Regions from separate parts of the Homo sapiens genome. Here region 2 is linked to region 1. Evidence: promoter capture Hi-C in human tissues and cell types (Jung and others, 2019). All regions are on one chromosome and are shown on one strand. The core of a region is centred on a gene start or on the middle of the fragment in contact, and the rest is flanking DNA. Distances in the headings are between cores, read along the strand shown.

Region 1 (4,298 bases), core at 880-3,379:
AAAATTTTAAAAAAAAAGAAAGTCACTTCAAAAAAAACAAAAAACAAAATGAGGAATCGGAGCCTTACAGGCCCTTTTAGAGAAAGCCTAGTCCCTTCCTTTTCTGAAGAGTTTGCAGCAGTTAAATGGCTTTCCCAAGGGCATACTGTGCCTTGGCATTAGTCTAGAGGAGACTCCTGAAAGTTAGGGCTCTACTCTATGTGACTGTTCTCTTGTCCTACAAATTAGCAGAGTGACATGTGGGTACCCATCTCAGTTTCCTGTGCACTTTAATTGGACCAAATATCTTAGGATTGAATCACCTCTGGGCAGGGTCAGCATCATGGGTACATGTGCAGTCACCCAGGGCCTACGCTAAGAAGGACCTTGTACTTGGTTTAATGTCCTGCTGTTGCCATCTTGAAATTCTTAATATATTTTTTTAAACAAAGAGTTTGGACCTATATTGGAAAGTCATGGATGCAATACATGACTGATATTACACCCTTTTCAGGTTTGAGTCAGATCTAAATCATCTCCAATCTAACAACTAGGAGTGTTACTAAATTGCCTGCTGGCCTTTATTCTTTGCAGGCAGGAGAAAGGCTAGGTACCCCCTGCCTCATTGCACCAAAGTGGCCAGGCATCCAACTTGCTGTACTTGAGCCATGCAAGAAGTCACAGAATCATTGTACATGTTTTACAGAAAGGAGCCTAAAGACTAAGTCAACTTCCTAGAATATTAAAATCCAGATGAGTGACTTGCCTAGGGTTACTCAGTGAGAGGTTAAATGAGTTGATACATGTAAAGTGCCTGGCACACAGCGATATACAGAGTTGCTTATGAATAAGAGTACTGACCATCTGAGGCAGGAGGATCTCTTTAGCCCAGCTGTTCAAGACCAACCTGGGCAATATAGTGAGACCTCCTCTCTATGAAAAATTAAAAATTAGCCAGCCACGGTGGCTCGTGTCTGTGGTCCCAGATATTTAGAATGCTGAGATGGGAGGATCGATTGAGCCCAAGAGGTGGAGGCTGCAGTGAGCCATGATCCCTCCACTGGTCTCCAGCCTGGATGACAGAGCAAGACTCTGCTGACCAGACTTTTCAGCTTCAGGTTCTTAGCATCACACATGCTGGTTGTCTACTGATTACAAAAACTCCTTTGAAGGGCTGTCAAATTTAAAATTTTCACTTGTGTAATGAACATCCCTTAACCCTGAATGCGATTTTAATTTACAGTCTTGTATGTGGCCACTTGGTGCCCTTTTTTTTTTTTATGGCTAAACGTGTACGCAAATTCTTCTTTTGGATTCAGTAGGTTTTTCAAAGCTTTTTTTTTTTTTTCCTGGTACAACTGTTCCATATGAATAAACACTATCCTTTTCATTTTATGGAGAAAGCTGATAATAGGGTTAAATTATAGGGGGCCATTGTTTTGAACTAAGTTCCTGCACTAGGTCCCAACAGATCAGACTAAGAATCAAGAGTCACCCATGCTAAAGTTCCAAGTCACCAAACTAAAACTAAGTTGTATCTGACATTCTGAGAAGTCAGGAAAGAGAGACAACAGCCAATTTTCCAACCAGGCCATTTCAAAATGCAATCGTCATGACAATTAAGTTTCCTGTTTTAGTCCTTAACCTGGTGTAACCTAATGTTAACCAATCCGTTATTTCTCTGTTGTTGTTTCCCTGTCCCCGCCTCGCAATGAAAGTAATTTGAAGTGACCAATCCGCTTTTTGTTCTCTGCTTCTGCTTTCTTCAGCCCTTTTTCTGTCTATAAAGCCAACTTCCTCCGCTCGACTCTTTGGAACACTTATTCTATTTTACAGAATAAGGTGTTGCCCGATTCTATTTTTTGTTTGTTTCCTCAGAGACCCCGTTCTGAGTGTTGCCCGATAATGGAACCACAAAGTCAATCAAGATCGAGTTGTAAAAAATTACAACTAAATTTATTGTAATTTTTTTGCCTTTTGCCAATAGAAATCCCTTTTTCATTAAGTATTCCTCCCTAGAGTAAGCGACCACGATGACCCCAATTTCACAAGTAAGGATGAGGAAAGGTTCTGCCCACACCGCCGCCCAGCCTGGCAGACTAGGATTGCATCCTGCGGGTGCCACTGCGCATGCCTGCCGGGGAATGACGTCAATCCGAGCTCGTCCCGGCCTCACCAGCGCCATGCTGGGCTCGCGAGCCGCGGGGTTCGCGCGGGGCCTGCGGGCTGTGGCACTGGCGTGGCTGCCGGGCTGGCGGGGCCGCTCCTTCGCCCTGGCGCGTGCGGCAGGCGCGCCCCACGGTGGTGACTTGCAGCCCCCCGCCTGTCCCGAGCCGCGCGGGCGCCAGCTCAGTTTGTCCGCGGCGGCGGTGGTGGACTCTGCGCCCCGCCCCCTGCAGCCGTACTTGCGCCTCATGCGGTTGGACAAGCCCATTGGTGAGTGCGGGCGGGCGGGCAGCCCGGGAATTTGCAAGTAGCAGCCTCCGAGTCGGCTCCGCGGAGCTGTCCGCGGCGGCCGGCCGGGGCGTGATGGAAATGAGAACCTGAAAGCTTGGGCTTGGCTGCCGGGTGCCGTGCGCCCTGGGGCGAATCACCTCGGGACACTTTGAAATGAGAGCCTGAAAGCTTGAGCTTGGCTGCCGGCTGCCGTGCGCCCTGGGGCGAGTCACCTCAGGACACGCAGTCGGGACAGTCTCCTAAAGGACCCGCCAGTTTCACGTCTGTCTGCATCCTGAGCACCTGAAGCGGGCAAGATAATTCTCATTCCACAAACACTTGTTTAAATGGTGACTCAAGCGGAAGGTTCCGTTCTCGTGGCCCTCCTTCATTTATTAGAATGTTTGATCCTCCCCGCAATCTTGTAAGGCCCACAAAGACAATCCTTAAGACAGTTAAGACGCTGAGGAAACTAAGGCTCCTCGTCAGAGCCAGACCAGAAGAACTCTGTGTTTTGATGCTGAGTCGGAGCTCTTTTACCTGCATCACCCATAAGGCAAAGATTTAATTCATTTGAACGCAGCAGGGACAGCGCTTACGGACTGCCTGTCAGCTTACAATCGCCCCCGACAGAAAGATTTTCCTGACCTTCCTATCTTAATTAACACCTACCAACCTCACTTTCTATCGCTTTATCCGCAATTTTTCTTAATAGCACTCACCACTAACTAACCTTATGCGCTTGTTGATTGATTGGCTTCTCCAGTAGTGTTAAGTGAATTAATAAGTTCCTACTACGTTGTCCGGCCATAGAGATAGAAAAAGCTATGGAAACCCTTTGCTTTCAAGGAACTCTGGTCTAGTTGAAAAAGACTATTTGGTGAGCTAGGAAAATATGGATCAAATATGAGTGATACAAAAGCAAGTGCTACAGGAAAAAGAGAAATTACTGTGGATCCCTTGCTGGAAAGTTTCGAGAAGAAATTATACTCCAAAGGACAAGTTGATTTTGCAGAGGAGGGAAGAGATCTTAGTGCGGGAAGTACTTTTGCAAAGACCCAAGGGTGGAGTGTTAGAACACTAAGAATACGAGCCTGACCTGGAACACCAAGTGGGTGTGGAAAATGGGAAACGAGACTAGACAAGAACATATCTGAAGAAGCTGGATAGCGTGGAGGAAGAAGTGAAGGATGAACTCCAGCCAATCTAGATGATGACATTTGCCATTGCAGTGTATGGAGATGTAGTCAAAGGCCTAGGTACATTTACTCCACTTTTGCCCGTACAAGACCCGAATTAGGCCTTGCTTTTGGTATTCTAGATTTATGCACGACCTATTTGGGATTAGAGCACTAAGTTATAACAATCAGCTATCAAAGCATAAAAGCCTACTGAATGATAGGTACAGCCCTGCCATCATTGGGAAGCTGTGTATGACCCCCATGAGTTTTGGGGCCACATTCACGTTGAGAGGCATGCATTTCCAAGCCCAGTTCCAATCTGAAGCCTGGCTGTAATTCTGTTCTTGGAGTCTGTGGCATGGAGTGGCAGTGTAGCCTTATAGATGAACATCTGCCATTATTCCCATTTCCCCAGTTAAACCTCTGGCTTCTATCTTAGTGGCTGGACCTTCCGCCATGTAACAGAAGGCAACAAAGGGGTTATGAGCAAAACTTTGGAGCCAAACCTCTTGGATGTGAACCTCCACCCTGCTCATCTGAGGGACCTTGGATAAATTACTTCACCTCTCTGGGCATCCGTTTTTCATCTGTAAAATGAAGATACTATTAATGATAATATGGACGTTATGAGGTCACGAAAATTCATTAATATATGTTAAGTGCTTAGAACAGTGCCTGTCATAATATGTGCTGAAGAAATAG
Region 2 (4,298 bases), core at 869-3,368, 310 kb after region 1:
GTATGGTAAACAATTGTGGTGTTCGCGGAAGTGTCTGAATGAATTTTTGGTTATTGTCAAGAGTTCACCGTGACTATCATAGACTTTTATAAATGTCATTGCTTGGTCTTTGGGTTGTTTATGTGTTGCAGACCGATTGTAACTTTATTTTTTAATTGTGCATGGACTTAATAGCCCTACCAGAATACATAGAGATATACTTCTGTTAAATTTTACTAGCATTGTTGGCATTAAGTTCAGTTTGGAGGGATAATTTCTACTTTTAACTAGTTCTTTATAACCTTTAAAAATTCACATATGCTAAATTTTAAACCACCAAAGTGCCTTTCTGTTGAATTGTATCACAAGGAGATTCCATCATCTTTATGTATACATTGCAGCTAAGACTGCAGTCTTTTTCCATGCAGCTAGTCTTTTTTTTAAGACGGAGTCTCGCCCTGTCACCGAGGCTGGAGTGCAGTGGTGCTATCTTGGCTCACTGCAACCTCCGCCTCCTGGGTTCAAGCGATTCTCCTGCCTCAGCCTCCCGAGTAGCTGGGATTACAGGCGCCCACCACCACAACCAGCTAATTTTTGTATTTTTAGTAGAGACGGGGTTTCACCATGTTGGCCAGGCTGGTCTCGAACTCCTGACCTTGTGATCCACCTGTCTTGGCCTCCCAAAGTGCTGGGACTACAGGCATGAGCCACTGCGCCCTGCTAGCTAATGCTCTTTCAAAGTACCTTGAGATTTTTTTTTTTTTTTTGATGATTTTTGGGCTTCTCATTGAAGATGACTATCTTTTTCTATGTTTCAGTCAAGATGATTTTATATTTGTGTATAAGCGATTTTTCTAAAATGCAAATCTGAACTTGTCATACCCTTGCTTAAAATTTTCTTGGCCTTGTTCATTTCTTCACCTGGACCCATCAGGATTAAGTTCAAATGCCAGTGCTTTCTTAGCATTAAAGGCATTTAGGATCTAATGCATGCCTTTTGATTTTCACCTTCAAAATAGTAGCTCCAAACCTACTGATTTAACTTATTGTAAGAGATCACCATATGGATCTAAACTAAGTTGTAGGACTAAGGGTCTTGGCAAGGTTCCTTTTACATGGAATGCCTTTCTTTGCCGTTCCTTGCGGCTGACTCATCCATTTTATCTCTTAGATTACCCATCTTGGAAGTTTTTGACTTCTAGGTTTAATCAGATACTCTTTCTCTGATCATTTCCTATTTATTTCCATAAAACTTGGTTATACTTACCAAGTACTTATCTTAAACTTCTGTTAAATTTCACACTGGCTTTGAGTTATCCATTAGTCATACTGTATTATAAATCTTGGTTTTCTTGTCTGTCTCCCCATACCCCTTATGATTTTTCATGATGGTAGTTTTTTTTGTTTTTTTGTTCATCTAGCTCTCTTTTTTTTTTTAGATGGAGTTTTCGCTCTTTTTGCCCAGGCTGGAGTGCAATGGCGCGATCTCGGCTCACTGCAACATCCGCCTCCTGGGTTCAAGTGATTCTCCTGTCTCAGCCTCCTGAATAGCTGGGATTACAGGTGCCTGCCACTATGCCCGGCTAATTTTTTGTATTTTTAGTGGAGACGGGGTTTCACCATGTTGGCCAGGCTGGTCTCGAACTCCTAACCTCAGCTAATCCGCCCACCTCAGCCTCCCAAAGTGCTAGGATTACAGGCATGAGCCACCGCGCCTGGCCTCATCATGTAGTTCTTTTAAAAAACTTATTTTTAAAAAATTGTGGTAAGATATACATAACACAAAATTTACCATCTTAACTTTTTTTTTTTTTGAGATGCAGTTTCACTCTGTCACCCAGGCTGGAGTGCAGTGGCGTGATCTCAACTCACTAAGTGATTCTCCTGCCTCAGCTTCCCAAGGAGCTGAGACTACAGGCACACTCCACCACATCCGGCTAATTTTTGTATTTTTAGTAGAGAAGGGGTTTCACCATTTTGGCCAGGCTGGTCTTGAACTTATGACCTCAAGTGATCCACCTGCCTCAGCCTTCCAAAGTGCTGGGATTACAGATGTGAGCCACTGCACCCAGCCTCATGTTAACTGTTTTAAGTGTATAGTTCATTGGCATTAAGTACATTCACATTGTTATACAACCATCACCACCATCCCGTCTCTAAAACTTTTTCTTTTTGCAAAACTGAAATCTTGTGCCCATTAAACAAAAACTCCTTATTCTTCCTTCCCCAATCCAGCTTCCGGCAGCCACCATCCCACTTTTGTATCTACGTTTTTGCTTTTTTTTTTTTTTGAGACAGTCTGTCACTCTGTCACTCAGGCTGGAGTGCAGTGGTGTGATCTTGGCTCACTGCAACCTGTGCCTCCCGGGTTCAAGTGATCCTCCTGCCTCAACCTCCCAAGTAGCTGGGATTTAAGATGGAGTCTCAGTCTGTCGCCCAGGTTGGAATGCAGTGGTGCGATCGTGGCTCACTGCAACCTCTGCCTTCTGGGTTCAAGTGATTCTCTTGCTTCAGCCTCCCAAGTAGCTGGGATTACAGGTGTGTGCCATCACGCCCGGCTAATTTTTGTATTTTTAGTAGAGATGGTGTTTCACCACGTTGGCCAGGCTGGTCTCGGACTCCTGACCTCAGGTGATCTGCCCACCTCGGCCTCCCAAAGTGCTGGGATTACAGGTGTGAGCCACCACGCCCAGCCATTGCCCTTTTTTTTTGATTGGCTTATTTCACTTAGCATAATGTCCTTAAGGTGCATTTGTGTTGTAGTATATATCAGAATTTTCTTTTTAAGGCAGAATTATGTTCCAATGTATTTATGTATGTACTGTATTGATGGTTCTTTTATCTTGTTTCTCTCACTCTTTCTCTTTCTCCTCTGTCCCCACCTTCCCAGAACCTAGCACAATTTTTGGCACCTTTTTTTTTTGGTTTGTTTGTTTTTTTGAGAGGGAGTTTTGCTCTGTCACCCAGGCTGGAGTGCAGTGGTGCGATCTCGGCTCACTGCAAGCTCCGCCTCCTGGGTTCACGCCATTCTCTTGCCTCAGCCTCCCAAGTAGCTGGGACTACAGGTGCCTGCCACCACACCCAGCTAATTTTTTGTATTTTTAGTAGAGATGGGGTTTCACCGTGTTAGCCAGGATGGTCCCAATCTCCTGACCTCGTGATCCACCCTCCTTGTCCTCCCAAAGTGCTGGGATTACAGGCATGAGCCACTGTGCCCTGCTCCTATTTTTGGCACTTTGATGTAGTTCTGTGAATGCATATTGTTGCATGAATATGTATATCATGGAGGCACTATAGTGATACAGTAGGAGCTATTGGGAAACTTGGGTTTTCAGTCATGGGTCTTCTGTTGATTTTCTCTATGATCTTCGGTAAATACATTATTTTGTTCATCTTAGTTTAGTAAAATGTAGATACCAGCCACCTGACAAGACTTGAAATGGTTACATGAGATAATAGAGGTTCTCATTATCACACCTCTCAAGGTAGAAGGTTGCTTCATGGGAGCAAGCTTCATCACAATGTAAAATTAATCTCTTAAAGAATTTGGCCTTACTCAAATATTCTAGCTTCCTGCCCCAGCCTATTCAATATGTGGCTTTATGGAGTGTGTCTCTTTTGATTCTTGGAGAATACCTGACAACAGAAATTAATTTCAAGGTCAAATTATGTAACTTGCATGCTTGCTTGAATCAGTGGAACTAAGGATAAATAGGGATTTGGAGGTTAGATTAGATAATCAGAAATGCTACCAGGATGAAAACCAAGCAGACCCTCAAAAAGAATAACTTGAATTTCAAAGGATATCAAGGTTCTTGGGAAAATTGATGAAATCTAGAAATATTTTGGTAGAAATGACCTGCTTTATGAGTATGTTGTGCCCATTTATCATTATCGACATAATTTATCATTTTGCTGTCGTCCAAATTTTCAGAAGCAATCTCTCTCCCCAAAACTCAACAGCTGATTTTTTTCTTTGTTCATCTTAAGAGTTAGTATAGTTGCAATTATAAACTGAATTTTTAAAAAACGTAGGCCACAGAAAGATAGTAAAAGTTTTATTACTTTTAGTTTTGTAATTTATAATGAAACTTTTGTTCCTGTTTTAAGTGAATTAACATCAAGTTGCCTTTTTCTGATACCAGTTATCCTCAGGAATTGCGGATTTTCTGTATGAATTTTTTTTTTTTTTTTTTTTTTTAGAGGGATTCTTGCTCTTGTTGCCCAGGCTGGAGTGCAATGGCGCAATCTCAGCTCACTGCAACCTCTGCCTCCCGAGTAGCTGGGATTATAGACGCACGCTACCACGCCTGGCTAAT

Evidence for each region. Contacts are between HindIII fragments. The study calls those that stand out against the background at their distance.
Region 2: a contact is called between a fragment that was not itself captured here and the fragment with the promoter of COQ2 in region 1, in 1 of the 25 tissues and cell types used here (lymphoblastoid cells).

Annotation. Positions count from the first base shown.
Region 1 is chr4:83,282,629-83,286,926 of GRCh38, reverse strand. It overlaps COQ2 (coenzyme Q2, polyprenyltransferase), which reads left to right and starts at 2,129. Exons shown (of 7, transcript NM_001358921.2): 1 at 2,129-2,415. The coding sequence starts at 2,163. RefSeq lists enhancers at 1,997-2,291, 2,487-2,726 and a silencer at 2,097-2,426. The HindIII fragment of the contact is 4,297 bases long and covers 246-4,298 here.
Region 2 is chr4:82,972,831-82,977,128 of GRCh38, reverse strand. All of the region lies in intron 3 of LIN54 (lin-54 DREAM MuvB core complex component), which reads left to right. Among named protein-coding and RNA genes, the nearest start is that of LIN54, 36 kb to the left of the region's middle. The HindIII fragment of the contact is 6,222 bases long and covers 1-4,298 here.